Linked DNA regions of Homo sapiens: all the other regions are linked to region 1. The links are contacts of gene promoters, found by promoter capture Hi-C in blood cells and fetal thymus (Javierre and others, 2016). All regions are on one chromosome and are shown on one strand. The core of a region is centred on a gene start or on the middle of the fragment in contact, and the rest is flanking DNA. Distances in the headings are between cores, read along the strand shown.

Region 1 (2,736 bases), core at 93-2,592:
TCTAAAAAAAGAAAAAATATAGAAGTTTATAAACATTTCTGATGTTATCATAAAAACTTTAGATACTGTGTAATGTCTGCATGATAGTCTACGTATGGATGTGCCATTATTTAATCACTGTCTGCTACTGTTTCCTTTTTTTTTTGCTATCATTAATACCTCAAAGATTAGTACACAAATCTTACTCACATCTCTGAGGCTATCCTTAGAATAGATTTTTGGAAGGGGATTATGGAGTCAAAAGTAAGACTTCTTTGAGACAGGGTCTTACTCTGCTTCCAAGACTTAAGTGCACTGGCACGATCTTGGCTCACTGCGCCCTCCAACTCCTGGGCTCAAGTGATCCTCCCACCCCAGTCTCCCAAGTACCCATCACAGGAACGATCACAGGAAGGCGGTCACAGGAACGCACCCCGACGCGCAAAGATGGGATCTCGCCATGTTCCCCAGGCTGGTACGATTCCTGATTCATACTGGAGAACAACTTGCTGTGCAGTTATATTTTGAACCTCATCAAAATGGAATCATACAGCGTCCTCTTCTTTGTGCCTAAGTTAACAGTAGCTGCTATTCGTTCAGGCTGTTGCGTTTATCCGTAACTTCCTATTTCTCTGTAGAAATCCACTGTATGATACACCACAATTTAGCCACTCAACTGCTGATGGACATTTAGGTTACCAGTTTTTTACTACTACGAATAAACGTGCTATGGACATTCTTGCACATGCCTTTGGTGGACGTATGCACTCATTCCTCTTGAAGTGAAATTTCTGGGGTCACAAGGTAAGCGTACATTTAGCTTTGGCAGAAACTGCAGCGGTTTTCCAAAATGGTTGCATCGTGGGGCTGTTTTTCTATCTTGGTCGCTGGACTTTAAGCGAGGCGTAATCTAGAGGCACAACTGGCTCGGGTAAGGCGTGGAGCCTGACTGTGTGCCGGGATCTGCCAGGGCTGCCACCAGCTAGCTGCACGGGTGAACAGACTCAGCAAGGTGCCACAGTGGCTTCCCACAGATCCACTCTCGGTGGGCTCGGTCCAACGACCCGCTATGTCTGCCGTACTGGCCCCGTACAAATATACTCATTCACATACTGGAAAACGGGGTGTTTTTCAGAGCATACACGTTAGCTCACACTGTAAAAAAAAGTCAGCACTGCGAAACGCAGTCGCTTCTTTCCTCCAGGAGGTAGCGCGTCCTACTCGCTCCGGAACAAAGGAAGCGCTCTGCAGGGTCTCGCGGCTCGGCACCTCACCTAGGCACATGCGCAGATCGAACCTCACAGAGGCCCGCGGTCCAGGCGCGCGTGACGTAGCGCCGTCCCGCCAGTGCGTGATGACCCCAGAGCGTGCGTTCGGTGGCCCATAGGGGAAGATGGCGGCTGCTCCTTTGGAGGAGCGGGATTGAGAGGATCGGGGTGGGGAGACCAAACAAGAGAGACATTTCTGGCTCTGAAGGCGAACGCTTCGCTGGCCATTTAGGAGCTCTGCTCAAAGCCAGACGGTGAGTGCGGCGGCGACACGGGACTGCTCGCCTGCAGCAGGCAGCGGCACTCTCCGCCATTTTCGGGCTCGGCCGTTGCGTGCTTTGGGGGCCTGGACGGGCGCCTGGGCACAGGTTGGAGGAACTGGGAGAATCGACCTCGGGGCGGCTGTTCGAGGCAGGTTCGAGACTTATGGGAGGGGGCTGGAGGCTGGAGGCCAACCGGGAAAAGCGGCCATGGTTAGAACTAAGGCCCTGACTGGGAGCGGTGGCGACGAGAAGACGTAAGTCAGGCCACAGTTAAGACGTGAAGTTTGGAGGGAAATGCATTTTAACTGAGGTTTGGGGCGGGAGTGGAAAGAAGTGGGCCGAGTTGAAGTAGTTGGTTGAAAGGGTCAAGGGAAGTTAACGTGAAATCTGCAAAACAGCTGAAGACTTAGCCGTGATGTTATCGTGGCTTGAAATCGGTGCTTATTATAAGGATGAGGCTACAGCTTGACAGGCAAAGCCCTGCTTTTTTGGAATAGTTGTATTTCTATTTGGTTTGTGCTAGATCCCTGTTTCTGATTTTAAGTTGTCTTCTGGCAACTAAGTAGTGAGGATCTTAGCATGCCTTCTTAAAAGAAATGACAATGAATGTTTGTACTTGGTTGTAACCCTTGGGATTAGTGGCCCCTTCCGGAGTAAGGAGGAGGCGGCGGCGGCAGGTCGGTAGGGAATTCCGTAATTGGATCTATTTAAATCAAATCAGAAAAATACGGGCTACTTGTAGAAAGCCTGTCAAGAATGTTTTAAAGTAGTTTCTACACACATGATCTTAAGTTGACTGTTCAGGAACTTTGGAAGACATTAGAATATGAACAAAAAGCCTGCACTGAAAGGAACAACTCTGGGGAGCGTAGACTTTACTTTTTTAGTACACTCTGGAGAGCTAATGCATGCTATATATACATATATATGTGTATATATGTGTGTGTGTATGTATATATAGCCTGTGAATATGGTGCAGTGGTAAACCTACTTAATTCAAACCTTTTAGTGACAGTTATGCTAGTTGTACCTCTTGTGGCATTTTTCATTTCCTCGCCTTAATTGCATTTTACCCATTTTTTATTACTGTAAGATACTTTTGCTTTTTTTGTCTCCTTGACCGGGAGAAGATAAAATATTGTATAGATTTGAGTTTTTGCTGAGACTTGAAGTTCCATATTTAGACTATCTTCTTGAAACTTGGGGAGAAATTTTAACTTGTCTTT
Region 2 (2,700 bases), core at 143-2,642, 400 kb after region 1:
CTACTTCTATATAAATTTTAGAACCAATTTCTCAATTTCTAAAAAAAAAATTCCTGGTGAAATCTTGATTTGGATTGAATTGAATCTATAGAACAATTTAGGAATAAAAGACATCTTAATGTTGAGTCTTCTCATCTATTAGCATGGTATTTCTCTACATTTATTCAGCTCTTTGTTAATTTCTCTCTCCAATGTTTAATTGTTTTCAGGTATAGGTCTTGAACATATTTTGTTAAATTTATCCCTACTTATTTCATGTTTTAAAAATGTTATTGTAAGTGGCATTTTAAAAATTTGAACTTACAATTGTTTGTTGCTAGTGTTTATAAATACAATTGACTTTTTAAATTGAGACATTATTTCTTGATTCTATAAACATGATAAGATGATCAACTATCCCATTTGTCTGGGATTGTACCATTTTTAACACTAAAAGTCCTAAAGAAGAAGCCAAAAAGTTAAAGGGAAGTAAACTCTCCCTTGGGAAGAGAAAAGTCGAGGTTTTCAGTGATTGATACAGGAGATTAGGGGAAAGGTATAAAACCCACATGGCAACCCCAGAAACAGAGGCCGAAGGCAACACTGGTTTTAGTGCCAAATGGGCACATCACCTTCCTTAGTGTCTGTTGCTGAGGACAACCACCATGATTTGTAGTACACCATAGTGGATCATCCATTATTATGTCACTCCTTGTGATGTAACTTAAGCGCGCTATAATCTTGAACGTGACCATCCACTTTGCCTGCGGATTAATTGTTGTGCTTTGTATTGAGACACTGCTAGTTTAATTTTAGCATGGTGACTACTGAGGCCATGTTTTCTTAAGCATTCAGGTGATGAAAATGAGGAAATGGTGTTGCAATATCAATGCCCGCGTGACCCAAATGGCCATGTTATTTTAACGACAGGAGGAGTGACACAGACAACTGGATGAGGGAGGTAAAGAATCAAAACAAGGGATACTGCGCAATAAGCAGAGAGAATTCGGGGTTGGGCATGGTGGAAGAAGGGACTGTAGAGACTGCCTCACAAGTCCTCAGTGAGATAGGCAAGTATGTCCACATTAACCAAAAAGCTTTTTGTCTCCACAAAAGACACCAATTGAAAATAGTGGCTGCTGAATTAGCTAGGGCAAACTACAAAAATGAATTTGTGTGATTGTGCTGCTCCTTTGATTGTTTTTTGAAACTGAGTAGGGGCACATTTCCTCATTTACAGGCTGTAACTGAAATATCACGTGGGTGAACAAAGGGAGAAATGTCGATGGCAGCTGTGTTGACCCTTTACAACATGCAGCGGATTCTGCCAGATCCCACCAACAATCATGCTTTCTACAGTAACCAAGTGCTGCATCCAATCATGGCAATGAAAAACAGTTCTCCTAACTTGTAAATACTTTGATTTGAAAAAATGGAGTTTCAAATCATCCTTTTTATTTCTATGAAGATTTTAATCCACCTGCAGAAAAAAAAAAAGAATGTTGATGCTATCTTGTCCAAATACAAACATGACTTTGCCCATCTGTCTGCCTATTTGGCAGACCGTGCAAATGTAAATTTTTGCAAATTCCATGCAGTCTATGAACGCTTTACCAAAGAAAAGTTAAAAATATTAGCCACGAAGTGTCCTGCACATTTTGTACACATCAGTAAAAAGGGGTGGAGTTTCCTTCCCTGTGATATTGATGCTTTCAAAATGAAAGCTTTTATTTACTTTTCAGTTTCCTCAAAGCATGAAAAAGCACTTAATGAGATTTTTCACATTCCAGAAATGGAAGGAGATGGCCTCCTTTGGACATGTGCCTACACGAGGGCTGTCACTGTTGCCAGGGTAAAAAGGCAGCCTGCCATACAACCATATTTTCAAAGCATGGGACAAGAAGAATGTCCTTGTCTAATTTGGAAATATATTAAGAATGAAAATAGAGAAAAAGATTATGGTTAAACAGTCAAACTGAAATTTATAAGTTCTTCCTCCAAAACTGCCTGATGATCTTTGAGGAGCCCATAAGGGCTCTGGAAAAGCATGAACTGACTGTCCCTGAGTTGTCGATGTTATAGGTAGGTACTGACAAAGCTCATATAATGAAAAATGACTCATTTTTTGGAAACGAAACCAAAATGTCACCAGAAAAGGACAGCCAATTTAAACAAGACTTTCTCACTTCTTTACTAAAACTGTAACTTATTTGGAATTCAACTTCAACTTCAACTTCACAAGTTCAAAGTATCTTTGTGCTTTAAAACTATTTTTCCTGAGAGAAACACAGACAGAGAAGGAGAGAGACAGAGAGAGGTTTAACTTACAGTGACATCCAGTGTGCTCAGAAATGTTCAAAAAGGGCCGGGTGCCATTGCTCACGCCTATAATTCCAGCACTTTGGGAGGCCGAGGTGGGTGGATCAGCTGAGGTCAGGAGTTCGAGACCAACCTGGCCAACATGGCGAACCCTGTCTCTACTAAAAATACAAAAATTAGCCAGGCGTGGTGGCACGCGCCTGTACTCCCAGCTACTTGGGAGGCTGAGGCCGGAGGATCACTTGAACCTGGGTAGTTGAGGTTGCAGTGAGCCGAGATCACGCCACTGTACTCCAGCCAGGGCGACAGAGTAAGACTCCAACTCAAAAAAAAAAAAAAAGTTCAAAAAGGATGGATATCTTAGCCATGGATATCCTACATGATAGATGCAAAAGATGACAA
Region 3 (2,700 bases), core at 13-2,512, 440 kb after region 1:
TGTTAGCCAGGAGGGTCTCGATCTCCTGACCTCGTGATCCGCCCGCCTCGGCCTCCCAAAGTGCTGGGATTACAGGCGTGAGCCACCGCGCCCAGCCTATTATTTGCTGTTTTGTAATAATACAGTCAGTCCTCTGTATCTGCAGGTGCTGCTGCATCTGTGGATTCAACCAACCACAGATAGAAAATATTTGAGAATGGCCGAGCACGGTGGCTCATGCCTGTAATCCCAGTACTTTGGGAGGCCGAGGCGGGCAGATCACAAGGTCTGGAGTTCAAGACCAGCCTGGCCAATATGGTGAAACCCTGTCTTTACTAAAAATGCAAAAAAAAAATAGCTGGGCGTGGTGATGCGTGCCTGTAATCCCAGCTACTCCGGAGGCTGAGGCAGGGGAATCGCATGAACCAGGGAGTCGGAGGTTGCAGTGAGCCGAGATCCCGCCACTGCACTCCAACCTGGGCAACAGAGTGAGACTCTGTCCACACAAAAATAAAAAATAAAATATTTGAGAATAATAATACTAGTCACAATTCAACAAGCTGGGTGCAGTGGCAAATGCCTGTAGTGCCAGCTACTTTGGAGGCTGAGGCGGGAGGTTTGTTTAAGCCCAAGAGGTCGAGGCCAACCTGGGCAACATCACAAGACCTCATCTCAAAAAGAAAAAAAAAATACAAATTTAAAAAATAACTTATAACAACTATTTACATGGCAGTTATATTAGGTATTAAAAATAATCTAGAGATGATTTAAAGTATATGGGAGGATATGCATAGTTTATATGTAAATACTTTGCCTTTTTATTTTTATTTATTTATTTATTTATTTTTGAGATGGAGTCTCACTCTGTCTCCAGGCTGGAGTGCAGTGGCACGATCTGGGCTCACTGCAACCTCCACCTCCCTGGTTCAAGCCATTCTCCTGCCTCAGCCTCCTGAGTAGCTGGGACTACAGGCGCATGCCACCACACCCGGCTAATTTTTTGTATTTTTAGTAGAGATGGGGTTTCACCATGTTGGCCAGGATGGTTTCGAACTCCAGACCTCGTGATCTGCCCGCCTCAGCCTCCCAAAGTGCTGGGATTACAGGTGTGAGCCACCATGCCCGACCGCCTTATTTTTATTTTTTTGAGACAGTGTCTTGTTCTGTCACCCAGGCTGGAGTGCAGTGGTGTGATCTCGGCTCACTGCAGCCTCTGCCTTCTGGGTTCAAGTGATTCTTGTGCCTCAGCCTCCCAAGTACCTGGGACTACAGGGGCACACCACCACACCAGGTTAATTTTCCTATTTGTAGTAGAGACAGGGCTTCACCATGTTGGCCAGGCTGGTCTCAAACTGCTGACCTCAAGTGATCCACCCGCCTCGGCCTCCCAGAGTGCTGGGATTACAGGCGTGAGCCACCATGCCCAGCCGATACTTGCCATTTTATATGAGGGACTTGAGCATTTGCAGATTTTGTTATCTATGGGGTCCTGAGACAAGTCCCTTGTGGATACTGAGGGATGACTGTAGTTGGATGCTCCTAAGTCATATTTTATTTTAGATTTGTGACTTAGACGTGTTTAGATGTGTTTCATTATCATTATTTGAGAGTTTCTAATTACTGTAAAGTTTGACTGGCTTTGTTACATTTTAATGGTATTATGGAGGTTTTGTTTTGAGACGGAGTCTCACTCTGTCACCCAGGCTGGAGTGCAGTGGTGCGATCTTGGCTCACCACAACGTCCGCCTCCTGCATTCAAGCCATTCTCGTGCCTCAGCCTCCCGAGTAGCTGGGATTACAGGCATGTGCCACCACGCCTGGCTAATTTTTGCATTTTTAGTGGAGATAGGGTTTCACCATGTTGGCCACGCTGGTCTCAAACTCCTGACCTCAGGTAATATGCCTGCCTCAGCCTCCCAAAGTGCTGGGATTATGGTTGTGAGCCACAGTGCCCTGCCTGGAGTTTTAATCCAAAGTATTTTATTCTAATGTGATAGGGAAATGAGACCTAATGTCTCCTGATTCAGTTTAAGGAGAGATAGATCAACATTATGTTTCATATGATGGCTTTAATGTATATTCTGATTAGGCATTTTAAAGTAACCTGTTAACTCCTTTTTAAAGTTAATAATATCTTATTGTATAATATACATATGTCAGACAGTATTTACAAAACTTCTTAGTTGCTCAGATACTATAAGGAAACAAGATAAGTAGAGGGTTGCTCAGCCTTAGATTGATAAAAATCTACTTTTAGAGATGATGTGACATTAATCCAACCAGTCTGTGATCAGTACATGGCTGCATTCTTTTGACTTCACCCCCAAGCTGTTATGTCTCTTCATATATAATCTTGCCCTGTGATTTGAGAAAGGGTAGGTTAGTTATGTGTTCTGAGATCATGTAATGTATATTAATAAAAATACAAAAATTAGCCGAGTGTGGTGGTGCATGCCTGTAATCCCAGCTACTCGGGAGGCTGAGGCGGGAGATTGGCTTGAATCCGGGAGGTGGAGGTTGCAGTGAGCTGAGATTGTGCCACTGCACTCCAGCCTGGTGACAAAGCGAGACTCTGTCTCAAAAAAAAAAAAAAAAAAAAAAACCCTTGACTGTGGGACAGCTTAGTAATGAACTCCAGAATAGTAAGCATTGAGCCTTAGAAAATAACAGAGAACAGAATTATTCTCATGTTATGAGTGGAGAACCAAGACTAATAAAATA
Region 4 (2,700 bases), core at 142-2,641, 460 kb after region 1:
GCCAAGGCAGGCGGCTGGGAGGTGGAGGTTGTAGCCAGCCGAGATCACGCCACTGCACTCCAGCCTGGGCACCATTGAGCACTGAGTGAACGAGACTCCATCTGCAATCCCGGCACCTTGGGAGGCCGAGGCTGGCGGATCACTTGAGGTTAGGAGCTGGAGACCAGCCCAGCCAACACAGCGAAACCGCGTCTCCACCAAAAAAATACGAAAACCAGTCAGGCATGGCGGCGCGCACCTGCAATCGCAGGCACTCGGCAGGCTGAGGCAGGAGAATCAGGCAGGGAGGTTGCAGTGAGCCGAGATGGCAGCAGTACAGTCCAGCTTCGGCTCGGCATCAGAGGGAGACCGTGGAAAGAGAGGGAGAGGGAGGGAGGGGGAGGAGGAGGGAGAGGGAGAGGGAAGCATGCACTCTTTTTTAACTTACTGCTTTGCCATCCTAAGCATGTGGCCAAGGATTAAAATATCTAACAACTAGTTTTATATAATTTGGAATTTGAAGCTTAGCTCTGTCTAGATTGGAGATACAGATTTGAGGGTTAGTTTATAGGTGATGTTTCTTCAAGAGACTCAATAGAATGAAAAGAGTAGTAGTGCAAGAATGAAACTTCAAATGACACTGGCATTTAATAGCCAAACAAGGAAGAAGAGATTCTGAAGCAGACTCAGGTGAGATGTGGGAAGTGGGGTGAAGAATGGAGACTCGTGAGAGTGCATTGCCATGGAAGCTGTAATGGATATTTATGTTTTTAGCCTACCGGTATTTAAACAACCTTCTCTTTTCTTTTCTTTTTTTGCAGTGGTGGGGATGGGATCATCCATTGTGTTAGTCTTGGCGGAAGTAGCAGTGTTCTGTATCTAACCTTTACTGTAGTAGAATATAACACCAAAAGTAGGGAAGTTGGCCAGGCATGGTGGCTCACGGCTGTAATCGCAGCACTTTAGGAGGCCAAGGCAGGTGGATTGCTTGTGCCCAGAAGTTCAAGACCAGACTGGGCAACATAGCAAAACCGTGTCTCTACCGAAAATACAAAAATTAGCTGGGCATGGTGGTGCGTACCTGTAGTACCAGCTACTTGGGTGGCTGAGGTGGGAGTATCACTTGAGCCCAAGAGGTCAAGGCTGCAGCGAGCCATGATTGTGCCACTGCGCTCTAGCCTGGGTGACAAAGCAAGACCCTGTCTCAAAAAAGAAAAAAAAAACACAAAAAAACAAGAAGTAGGGAAGTCTAGATTATATGAAGTAAGCCATGGCAAGGACTTTGGAATTTATTCAAAGTAGAGAAACTACCAGTACTTTCTGACAGAGAGAGAGCATTAACATTCTCTGACTTACTTTTTAAAAGGGTGATCCTTATTGTTGTATAGGAAATGAGTTATATTAGAGTTTGGAGTAAAATCAAGTTGATCAGATATGAAACTATTTCAGTAATCCATGCAAGAGAGGATTATGGCTTGGAGTAGTGAAATATATTTTTAAGGGAAAGCTAATGGGATTTGCTAATGGATTGGAATATAAGGTGAGAGCATGAGAGGGGTCAAGCCTATCTCAAAATTTTTGTTTTGAGCAACTGGAAAAATAGAGATGCTTCTTGATAAGACTGGAGAAGAATAGATTTTTTTCACTTTGTTTTTGTTTTTACAATTTTTTTCTTCTGAAATAAGTTCCAGAAGTTGCAAAACCAGTATAAAGAAATTTGTTTTGATTATTTGAGAGTAACTTGCTAACATGAGGTCCCATCACCCCACAATATTTTAGTTTGTAATTGCTATCAATAAGGATATTTTTCTACATATCCAGAATCCAACTGTCAAAATGAGGAGGTTAGCATTGATAGAACCTGTGGATTATATCATCTAATCCACAGAACCCATTCAAGTTTTGCCAGTAGTCCCAATAATGCTCATTTTAGGAAAATAATTCAATCAGGATTATAATTTGCATTTAGTTGTTGTGTCTTTTTGATGTATTTCAATCTAGAACAGCCATAACGTTTCCTTGACTTTCATGATTTCGACAGTTTTGAGGTTTACAGAGCAGTTAATTCTTAGACTATTTCTCAATTGAGATTTGTCTAATGCTTCCCTATGAATCAATTCAGGTTATCAATTTTTGGTAGCAGTATCACAGAGGTGATGTGGTATTCTTCTCAGTGTTACCTTACCAGTTGGCACTTTTTTTTAATTTTTAAAAATTGAAGTCAGGCTAGTTAGGTACATGATTTTAATTTGCCTGTTACTGATGATCTTAATTAACATGGATCACTTGACTTAAGCTTTTTTTTTTGTCTGCTGGCTTTCTACACTAGAAAGGGTACTTTTTTTTCCTTTGAAAAATGAGTGGAAATGATTATTTTTTGGAGATGGTGTGTTGAAACTAAGTAACTCATTCCTCATCACACTTTTCATCCACTAGCTTTAGCATTTGTTGATTTTTCTTGGTTGAATTATTACTTAATTATTTCTATTGATGATTGCTGAATGGTGGTCTTTCTAATTTTATTACATTCATTAGTTGACATTCTACTGTAAGAAAAAGCTTTCTCTTCCTCCCATTGTTGATTTATTTGTTTATCTTTGTTTTTATGGACTCATGGTTTTCTTCTTTCTTTTTTTTTTTTTTTTTGTTTTTGTTTTTGTTTCAGGAGATGGGATCTTGCCATGTCGCCCTGGTGGGATACAAACCCCTGGGCTGAAGTGA
Region 5 (2,700 bases), core at 172-2,671, 310 kb after region 1:
CCTTGAAAATTGGTCTGTGGTAGGTTCACATAGCTTAAGTCATATATCTAACAAGAAATATTTGGCTCAGTAAATTTTTAAGAGGGTATACTCAAACACGGAAATACTTTCACTTTTTAAGCTAGAATATTATTGCCATGTTATTTAAAGTTGAGCTACCAGATGGGAGAAAAAATTCACCGGATCCTAAAATACTTGTTAGTATTTTGGCATGTTTAATTTTGTATATTTTTCTCTGCATTTTAAAGCCATAGCTATAATATGCACATATCAAGTTTGTACCCCAGGGCATGTTTTCAGAGTAATTATTTCAAGTAACATTATGTGTTGGTATAGTTAGATGAATCATGTTCTCCCTAAAACTTAAGCTTTCTTGTTTCTAGGGTTACTAGACACAGGACCGTGACTACTGTAAGCCTCAATTTTGTTATCATGAGAAGTACCATTATGAGGAGTAAATGAACTAACAGGAGAGAGCCTGTTGTGGTATTGGCTCTTAGTGGGTACTTAGGAAATGTTAACTTCTCCTTTCTTTGTTTGCTTAAATTATCTTGGGAGAAGGTGCCCATATGTTATTTGACCCTTTAAATAAAATTAAATTTTATAGTTCTTTTCCCTTAAATAATCTTAACCTTATAAAACCCAAGAATGTTCCTGTGTAAAAGAACTTGGTTACATGTTTGCTTGTATTTCTTTGAAAAATAGAGTTATTTATTTTTATTTATTTATTTTTATTTTTGACAGTCTCACTCTGTCACCCAGGCTGGAGTGCGATGGTGCAATCTCAGCTCACTGCAACCTCCGCCTCCCAGGTTCAAGTGATTCTCCTGCCTCAGCCTCCCTAGTAGCTGGGATTACAGGTGTCCACCACCACGCCCAGCTAATTTTTGTATTTTTAATAGAGACAGGGTTTCACCATGTTGGCCGGGCTGGTCTCGAACTCCTGACCTCAGGTGATCCACCACCTCGGCCTCCCAAAAGGTGTGAGCCACCTTGTCCAGCCTAGAGTTATATTTTTACAAAACAGAAGTATGTATGAGAAAATTCGCCTTTTAAAAAAGAAAAAATCTAGCTCTTCACGGTCAGTTTTCTGTAGTAATCTGAGGGCATGCTTTACAAATCTGTTTTGATGAAGGCTGGTTATATTTCCCCATTTGGGGATCCAAATAAAACCATTTCACTGATTGGCTTTCTGTGGGGGTGTTTCTATATGGGTATAGGACAAGAATTCTCCATTTAGGTGCACATAATCCTGTATTTTAAAAAAATCACAGAAAAAATTTAATGTTTTATTATTAATGGTTTTTTTTTTTTTGCACTTTCCTAATTTTTTCTCACTTTATTTTTCAGAATGAAACTAGTGATCGAGAAGATGGCCTCCCCAAAGGACATCATGTGACAGACTCTGAGAACGATGAGCCCTTAAATCTTAATGCTAGTGACTCTGAAAGTGAGGAGCTTCACAGGCAAAAGGACAGCGACTCTGAATCTGAGGAACGTGCAGAGCCTCCTGCAAGCGATTCTGAAAATGAGGATGTCAATCAGCATGGGAGCGACTCTGAGAGTGAAGAGACCAGGAAATTACCTGGTAGTGACTCTGAAAATGAGGAACTTCTTAATGGGCATGCAAGTGACTCAGAAAACGAAGATGTTGGGAAGCATCCCGCCAGTGATTCTGAGATTGAGGAGCTCCAGAAGAGTCCTGCTAGTGACTCTGAAACAGAAGATGCTCTAAAACCTCAAATCAGTGACTCTGAGAGTGAGGAACCCCCAAGGCACCAAGCCAGTGACTCCGAAAATGAGGAGCCTCCCAAACCTCGAATGAGTGATTCTGAAAGTGAGGAGCTTCCTAAACCTCAGGTCAGTGATTCAGAAAGTGAGGAACCCCCAAGGCACCAGGCCAGTGACTCTGAAAATGAGGAGCTTCCCAAACCTCGTATCAGTGACTCAGAAAGTGAGGACCCTCCGAGGCACCAGGCCAGTGACTCAGAAAATGAAGAGCTTCCCAAACCCCGAATCAGTGATTCGGAAAGTGAGGATCCCCCAAGGAACCAGGCCAGTGATTCGGAAAATGAGGAGCTACCCAAACCCCGAGTCAGTGACTCTGAGAGTGAGGGGCCTCAGAAGGGGCCTGCCAGTGACTCAGAAACTGAGGATGCGTCCAGACACAAACAGAAGCCAGAGTCAGATGATGACAGCGACAGGGAGAATAAGGGAGAGGATACAGAAATGCAGAATGACTCCTTCCATTCAGACAGCCATATGGACAGAAAAAAGTTTCACAGTTCTGATAGTGAGGAGGAAGAACACAAAAAGCAAAAAATGGACAGTGATGAAGATGAAAAAGAGGGTGAGGAGGAGAAAGTAGCGAAGAGAAAAGCTGCTGTGCTTTCTGATAGTGAAGATGAAGAGAAAGCATGTAAGGAGTTACCTTGGGCTGTTTATCAATGGCTTTATTCATTGTCTAAGCTTGTAACTGTGGAACATTGTATCCTCTTGGTATGTCAGATCTGTGTTCTGTTATTCAGCTTAATATTCTAAAATATCAGTAGGACACTCATTTCCCCTGGTTATCATTAGCTAAGCTTAATAGTAAGTTTCCTTGGAGTTCTATTAGCACATATTAATCTCTGACTGCCTCAAAGTGATAAACCACATGTCAATAGGAATATAAAATACTGTTTTTTTTTTTTAAAACTG
Region 6 (2,700 bases), core at 73-2,572, 280 kb before region 1:
GTTCGAAATTCATTTTTATCCCTTCCTGTCTGAGCAAAAACTGTATAGAATCAACATCACCCCAGCTCTGTGGGAAAAAAGAAAAACCTGCTCCCTTCGCCCTGCTGGAAGCTGGAGGGCTCTAGGCCCATGTGTAGCAGAGCATTCAATTCTAGCTTTCTTCCTGCTTTCTCTGTATATTGGGCTCGGAGAGTACACTGGGTCTCTATGTGAATATGGACAGTTAGCATTTACCAACATCTTTCTGTCTACTTTCTCTTGTTTAAAAAAAGAAAAAAACTTTAAAAAATGGGATTCTAGAAGTCAGCAAAGGGTGGGTCTGAGATGTTTGGGTGGGTTAAGCGGACATTTTGACAACATGGCTTCTCCTTTGGCATGTTTAATTGCGATGTTTGACACACATCCTTGCAGTTTAAGATGACGCTTTTAAAATAAATTCTCTCCTAATGATGACTTGAGCCCTGCCACTCAGTGGGAGAATCAGCAGAACCTCTAGGATCTTATTTGGAATTGACATTCTCTATTGTAATTTTGTTCCTGTTTATTTTTAAATTTTGTTTCACTGGAAAGGAAAGATCATGCTCAGTTTTAAATGTTAAAAGTGTACAAGTTGCTTTGTTACAATAAAACTAAATGTGTACACACACCTACGAAAAGAAAAAAACATGAGCATTTTAAAATTTATTTCACAAGGGAGCTGTTGTGTTAGCTTTCCATAGTGTATTTTCTAGCCCTCTTTAAATCACATCAGCTAATGCTTCAATAAAAAGGAAATTGTTAATTCACCTCATTACAAAGTTGATTATATACTTTTTCTTGGCCTTATCTTGATCTTCTGCTATGTGATCCATGAACAAAACCAAAGTTTGCTTAGTTTTAAAATACAGCTAAGTGGTAGCACAGAGCTTCTAGGAAAGTTGGATTTCACCTTTTCTAAACCTTTCTCTGAAAAGTGCTACCTTATTTGAATAAAAACAGATTTTAAAAAATTTTTTAAACTTTTTATTTAGAAATAATTATAAATTCACAAGAAGTTGCAAAGATAGTACACAGAGGTACTTTGTACCCTTAAGCCCATTCCCCCAATGATTACATTTCAAATATCTATATTAAAGTATGAAAACCAGAAATTGACTTGGTACATTGTGTGGGGGAGACAGGTATATTTCCATCATTTTGTGTATGTCTGTACATTTGTGTAACCACTGCCAAAATGAAGACCCACAACTATTGCAGCACCACAAAGATCTCCCTTGTGCTACCCCTTTATGAAGTCAGAACTACTTTCCTACCCCCAAAACCCCTAGCCTGTGGCAACCATCATTTTGATCATTAAATATAAAATTTTTCAATTCTAGAATGTTATATGAATAGTATCACATAGTATGTAGCTTTTTTATTTATTTATTCACTCAGCATAACCACCTGTGGAGCCATACAAGTTGTAGATATCAGTAGTTTGTTCCTTTTTATTACTGAGTAATATTCCATGGTACAAACATACAGATTCATTTTAGCATCACCTATTGAAGGATATTTGGGTTTTTTCCAGTTCTGGACTATTACAAATAAAGCTCCTATTAACATTCATGTACAGGTTTGTATTTATATTTATTTATTTATTTATTTAAAATTACAAAAATCAGCCAGGCATGGTGGTGGGCGCCTGTAATCCCAGCTACTTGGGAGGCTGAGGCAGGAGAATTGCTTGCACCCAGGAAGCAGAGGTTGCAGTGAGTAGAGATTGCGCCACTCCACTCCAGCCTGGGTGAGGAGCAAGACTCTGTCTCAAATAAAAAAAAATTATTTATTTATTTATTTATTTATTTAATAGATCAGGTCTCACCATGTTACCCAGGCTGGTCTCAAAATCTTGGGCTCAAGCAATCCTCCCCACTTGGTCTCCCAAAGTCCTGGGATTACAGTCATGAGCCACCACGCCCAGCCCTATGTAAAGGTTTTTTACATAGACACAAGTTTTTTGTTTGTTTTTGTTGGGAAGGAGTGTCGCTCACTCTGTCACCCAGGCTGGAGTGCAGTAGTGTGATCTGGCTCACTGCAACCTCTGCTTCTGGATTCAAGCAATTCTCCTGCCTCAGCCTCCTGAGTACCTGGAATTACAAGTGTGTGCCACCACACCCGGGTAATTTTTTTATTTTTAGTAGAGATGGGGTTTTGCCATGTTGGCTAGGCTGTTTTCAAACCCCTGACCTCAAGTGATCCACCTGCTTCAGCCTCCCAAAGTGTTGGGATTACAGGCATGAGCCACCATGTCTGGCCTAGACCTAAGTTTTTTTTTATCTGGGATGAATGCCCAAGAGTGCAATTACTTGATCATATGGTAAATGTACATTTTGCTTGTAAGGAAAGGCCAAACTATTTTCTAGAATGGCTGTACCATTTTACATTCCCACCACCAGTGTATGAGAGATCCATTTTCTCTGCATTCTTACCCACAATTGGTACTGCCATTATTTTTTTATTTTTGTTATTTTGATAGGCACATAGTAATTCCTCATCATGGTTTCAATTTGCATTTCCCTAGTGGCTGGTGATGATGAGCATATTTTCACATGGTCATTTGCAATCTGTGTATCCTTTTGTGGAATGCCTTGTCATGCCCTAGCTTATTCTCTAATTATTTGGTTTTCCACCATTGAGTTTTGAGGGTACTTTATATATTTTAGATACAAGTTATTT
Region 7 (2,700 bases), core at 28-2,527, 280 kb after region 1:
GAAACCACTTCTCCCCTTTCTTCTCTTCCCACGTCCTCTTCAGGAGCCTATAATTGGGCTCTGCCAGCATACTCTGACTGGCTAACGAAGGGTCAGATATCTGCAGTAGTAACAAAAGGCTCTTTTTCTACATGTCTACACCTCCTGGGGAGTCTTTGCTTAAACCTCTACTGGCCCTCCTCCGATCCAAAGGCAAGAATGTTCCCCTCTCTGTCCAAGACTAAAATGAACAAGTAAGGAAATGGATTTTACTCAGCCTATTGCAATAGGGAGAGCACTCCAGATATGATCAGTGTCTTGGCAGCGTAGTTTTGACTTTTATAGGGAGGAAGGTGGGATGATTGACAGTTGGGATTGTTTTGCAATCAGGAGAAGTTTCAGTCAGGTGAACAGGAAATGTTCTCTGTGTCTAACAAGTTGGGGGGAGGAGAGTTCTAATCTCAACTAATCACTCGATATCATCAGCGGGAATTTGGAAGGTCTGTTTGGCTTTATTAACAGGCTCAGAATAAAGGGGAAAGGTCTCTGGCCTTGTCACAGGCAAACAAGGGGGTCATCTGCACGCGTTTTATCTGAGTCACATGGAGACGGGTGGTTCTTTACAGTGTGCCGTTCCAGAAACACAAATAGATGAGGGGGTTTCTTAATCACCGCTGTTTTCCAGGAACACAGGGCTCAGGTAAAGTTCAACTTCACCTTCCTCCGGTGTTTCATCAGGGGAACCCTTCTGGAAGCAAAGACGTGTACTTCTTACTGTTGGCTAAATGGCTTCTTAACAAGGAAATTAAATCGTTGTTTAGAATGAAAGAGAGGAAGACGCCGGGAGAGGAGGCGCTGTGGATCGCGCCAGTTAGTAACGCATCACAGCTCGCGGGCGTCATACTACAAGTCCCAGTGAGCAACGCCCGCTTTCTTGCCTACTGCGGGCGGGAACCAGGCGCCTCTGGGCCTGACGGGAAAGACAGTGGTTTGGCTGAATGACGGAAAAGTCATTTGAGCAGGTCTTCATTTTTCGGAAGAGTATCTCAAAAGCTCTTCAAACAAGGCACGGACACAGAATCTAGGAAATGATAAAGAATCAATGATAACGTTATTACCACGGGGGTCAGACCAGGATCCACCCGAGGAAGGTATTTAACTAAAGCCCGAGTTCCAGCTCAATTTTCCCAGGAGTCTCCTTTCCGGCCGTGCCTGGCGTCATTGCTGTTGCGTCTTCTCATTGGCCGGTTGACGGGTTGCGGCGCCTGCGCGCTGCATTCCTTTGAGGGTCGTGGGCAGACGCCATTTTGGCCCCAGCGGTGCTTCTAGGAAGTAGAACGCCGGCTCGCATGCCTGCCCGCCCGCCAGCCTGCCGGGTACGGCCTTTTCCGCCGGGGCTTCCAGGTCAAAGAATTCGCCTTTGCCGCTACCGCTTTCTTACCCTCCGCACCCGTTAAGTTCTCCGGTCGGGCGGCAGTCTCTGAACACTTAGCCGCGCCATCCGGGGTCACACCGCCTGGAAGGAGGTGACGGGGGCGGCGCGGGGCGCGGACACTCCCCGCTGAGAGTCCGCCTGCCATGGACTCGGAATATTACAGCGGCGACCAGTCAGGTGGGGCAGGGACCTGGGGGACCGGGCTGGGAGGCGGAGCAGTTACTCGGCGGGGCTTGGCCTGGCACCCCGCGGGTGGGGGCAAGGAGGCCCCCCGAAACCTTCCCTCCCGCGACCCGGCCCGAGGAGGGCAAGAGCCCTCTGACCAGCTGCAAGCGTCGAAGCTAGAACGTTGGAGAGGGGATTCTGGTGGGAAAGCTTTCTTCTGAATCGGCGAAGGTTTTTGCTGAAATTGGGAAGTCACTTTCATATGTTAAGCTCCTATTGTGTGCAGGGAAGGAGAGGTGTCTTCTGTTAAGAGAGTTTTCAGTAGTTGAGTAGTTGGAGAATCCAAGGGGCGTTGGGGCGGGGGATCCTTCCTAGACTTTTCACTGCTAGTTAGGAGTGGTTTAATCTTGCTTGCAACACCGGACGTAAGTGCAGGACCCATGTTTCAGTTGCATGCATAGAGTAAGGAATGCGCTTCTGGCACTTACTGGTGGTTTTTGTGCCTTTCCTCCACCTTGAGATCGTTCCTCTTCCTCCTCACCGAAGTTTGGTCTCCTTTCTTTACTGTTTGTTTATTCTGTAAGCTGTTACTGGGGCCCACTCTGCTGGCACGGTGCTTGGCACCTGAGATTAAGGATAAGTGAGGCAGAACCTGGTGTGGGAAACACGTCGCATTTGCTTTCCCTTTGTGTGCTAGTCCTGTTGGGGCGTTCTGTTACAAAAGTTCTTAAATACACCATAAATAAATACACCCTCTATGTACCCACAAAAATTGAAAATTAAAAAGAAAACTTGAGTGCTTAAATAATTGTTTAAGCGTTAAGCCCTTTACTGTTTTGAGTTCATTGCTTTTCCTTACGTAGGACAGTGAATTCTAATGACTGCAAAGCGTTTTCCAGGCATGCACTGCTTAAAAACACTTTCCTAAGCCAGGTGCGGTGGATTATGCCTGTAATCCCAGCACTTTGGGAGGCGTAGGCGGCCGATGGCTTGAGCCCAGGAGTTCGAGACCAGCCTGGGCAACATAGTGAGACCAACACCACCCCCACCCCCCATGCCCGTACCCCACCCCCCTACGCCCCTACCCCACCCCCCTACTTCGTCTCTACAAAAAAATGCAA

What was found. Contacts are between HindIII fragments. The CHiCAGO score rates a contact against its expected background, and 5 or more counts as called.
Region 2: a fragment that was not itself captured here is called in contact with the fragment with the promoter of WDR33 in region 1 in 1 of 17 cell types (fetal thymus); the score reaches 5.6 in fetal thymus.
Region 3: a fragment that was not itself captured here is called in contact with the fragment with the promoter of WDR33 in region 1 in 1 of 17 cell types (activated CD4 T cells); the score reaches 5.3 in activated CD4 T cells.
Region 4: a contact is called between a fragment that was not itself captured here and the fragment with the promoter of WDR33 in region 1, in 1 of 17 cell types (total B cells). The highest score is 5.9, in total B cells.
Region 5: a contact is called between a fragment that was not itself captured here and the fragment with the promoter of WDR33 in region 1, in 3 of 17 cell types (naive B cells, activated CD4 T cells and total B cells). The highest score is 6.3, in naive B cells.
Region 6: a fragment that was not itself captured here is called in contact with the fragment with the promoter of WDR33 in region 1 in 4 of 17 cell types (naive CD8 T cells, total CD8 T cells, total CD4 T cells and 1 more); the score reaches 6.4 in naive CD8 T cells.
Region 7: the fragment with the promoter of IWS1 here is called in contact with the fragment with the promoter of WDR33 in region 1 in 8 of 17 cell types (fetal thymus, non-activated CD4 T cells, naive B cells and 5 more); the score reaches 10.4 in fetal thymus.

Annotation. Positions count from the first base shown.
Region 1 is chr2:127,809,777-127,812,512 of GRCh38, reverse strand. It overlaps WDR33 (WD repeat domain 33), which reads left to right and starts at 1,342. Exons shown (of 22, transcript NM_018383.5): 1 at 1,342-1,501. It overlaps LOC124907885 (a long non-coding RNA gene), which reads right to left and starts at 1,262. Exons shown (of 2, transcript XR_007087230.1): 1 at 370-1,262; 2 at 1. RefSeq lists enhancers at 1,041-1,110, 1,381-1,670, 1,691-1,770, 1,851-1,930, 1,337-2,277 and 1 more. The HindIII fragment of the contact is 7,008 bases long and covers 1-2,736 here.
Region 2 is chr2:127,410,332-127,413,031 of GRCh38, reverse strand. It overlaps LOC124908047 (translation initiation factor IF-2-like), which reads left to right and starts at 2,678. Exons shown (of 3, transcript XM_047446883.1): 1 at 2,678-2,700. The coding sequence starts at 2,678. RefSeq lists enhancers at 1,818-1,867, 2,008-2,207. The HindIII fragment of the contact is 627 bases long and covers 1,079-1,705 here.
Region 3 is chr2:127,366,748-127,369,447 of GRCh38, reverse strand. The region is part of intron 1 of MAP3K2 (mitogen-activated protein kinase kinase kinase 2); the gene reads left to right. All of the region lies in intron 1 of LOC124906074 (a long non-coding RNA gene), which reads right to left. Among named protein-coding and RNA genes, the nearest start is that of MAP3K2-DT, 19 kb to the left of the region's middle. The HindIII fragment of the contact is 3,235 bases long and covers 1-2,700 here.
Region 4 is chr2:127,350,380-127,353,079 of GRCh38, reverse strand. All of the region lies in intron 1 of MAP3K2 (mitogen-activated protein kinase kinase kinase 2), which reads left to right. Among named protein-coding and RNA genes, the nearest start is that of MAP3K2-DT, 36 kb to the left of the region's middle. RefSeq lists an enhancer at 594-1,093. The HindIII fragment of the contact is 1,773 bases long and covers 505-2,277 here.
Region 5 is chr2:127,504,403-127,507,102 of GRCh38, reverse strand. It overlaps IWS1 (interacts with SUPT6H, CTD assembly factor 1), which reads left to right. Exons shown (of 14, transcript NM_017969.3): 3 at 1,351-2,419. Among named protein-coding and RNA genes, the nearest start is that of IWS1, 21 kb to the left of the region's middle. The HindIII fragment of the contact is 2,101 bases long and covers 371-2,471 here.
Region 6 is chr2:128,087,052-128,089,751 of GRCh38, reverse strand. No RefSeq gene overlaps it. Among named protein-coding and RNA genes, the nearest start is that of UGGT1, 2.8 kb to the left of the region's middle. The HindIII fragment of the contact is 4,939 bases long and covers 1-2,700 here.
Region 7 is chr2:127,525,066-127,527,765 of GRCh38, reverse strand. It overlaps IWS1 (interacts with SUPT6H, CTD assembly factor 1), which reads left to right and starts at 1,277. Exons shown (of 14, transcript NM_017969.3): 1 at 1,277-1,591. The coding sequence starts at 1,558. RefSeq lists enhancers at 678-747, 988-1,037, 1,298-1,357, 1,888-1,947, 1,958-2,037 and 1 more and silencers at 783-956, 1,598-1,707. The HindIII fragment of the contact is 4,097 bases long and covers 1-1,791 here.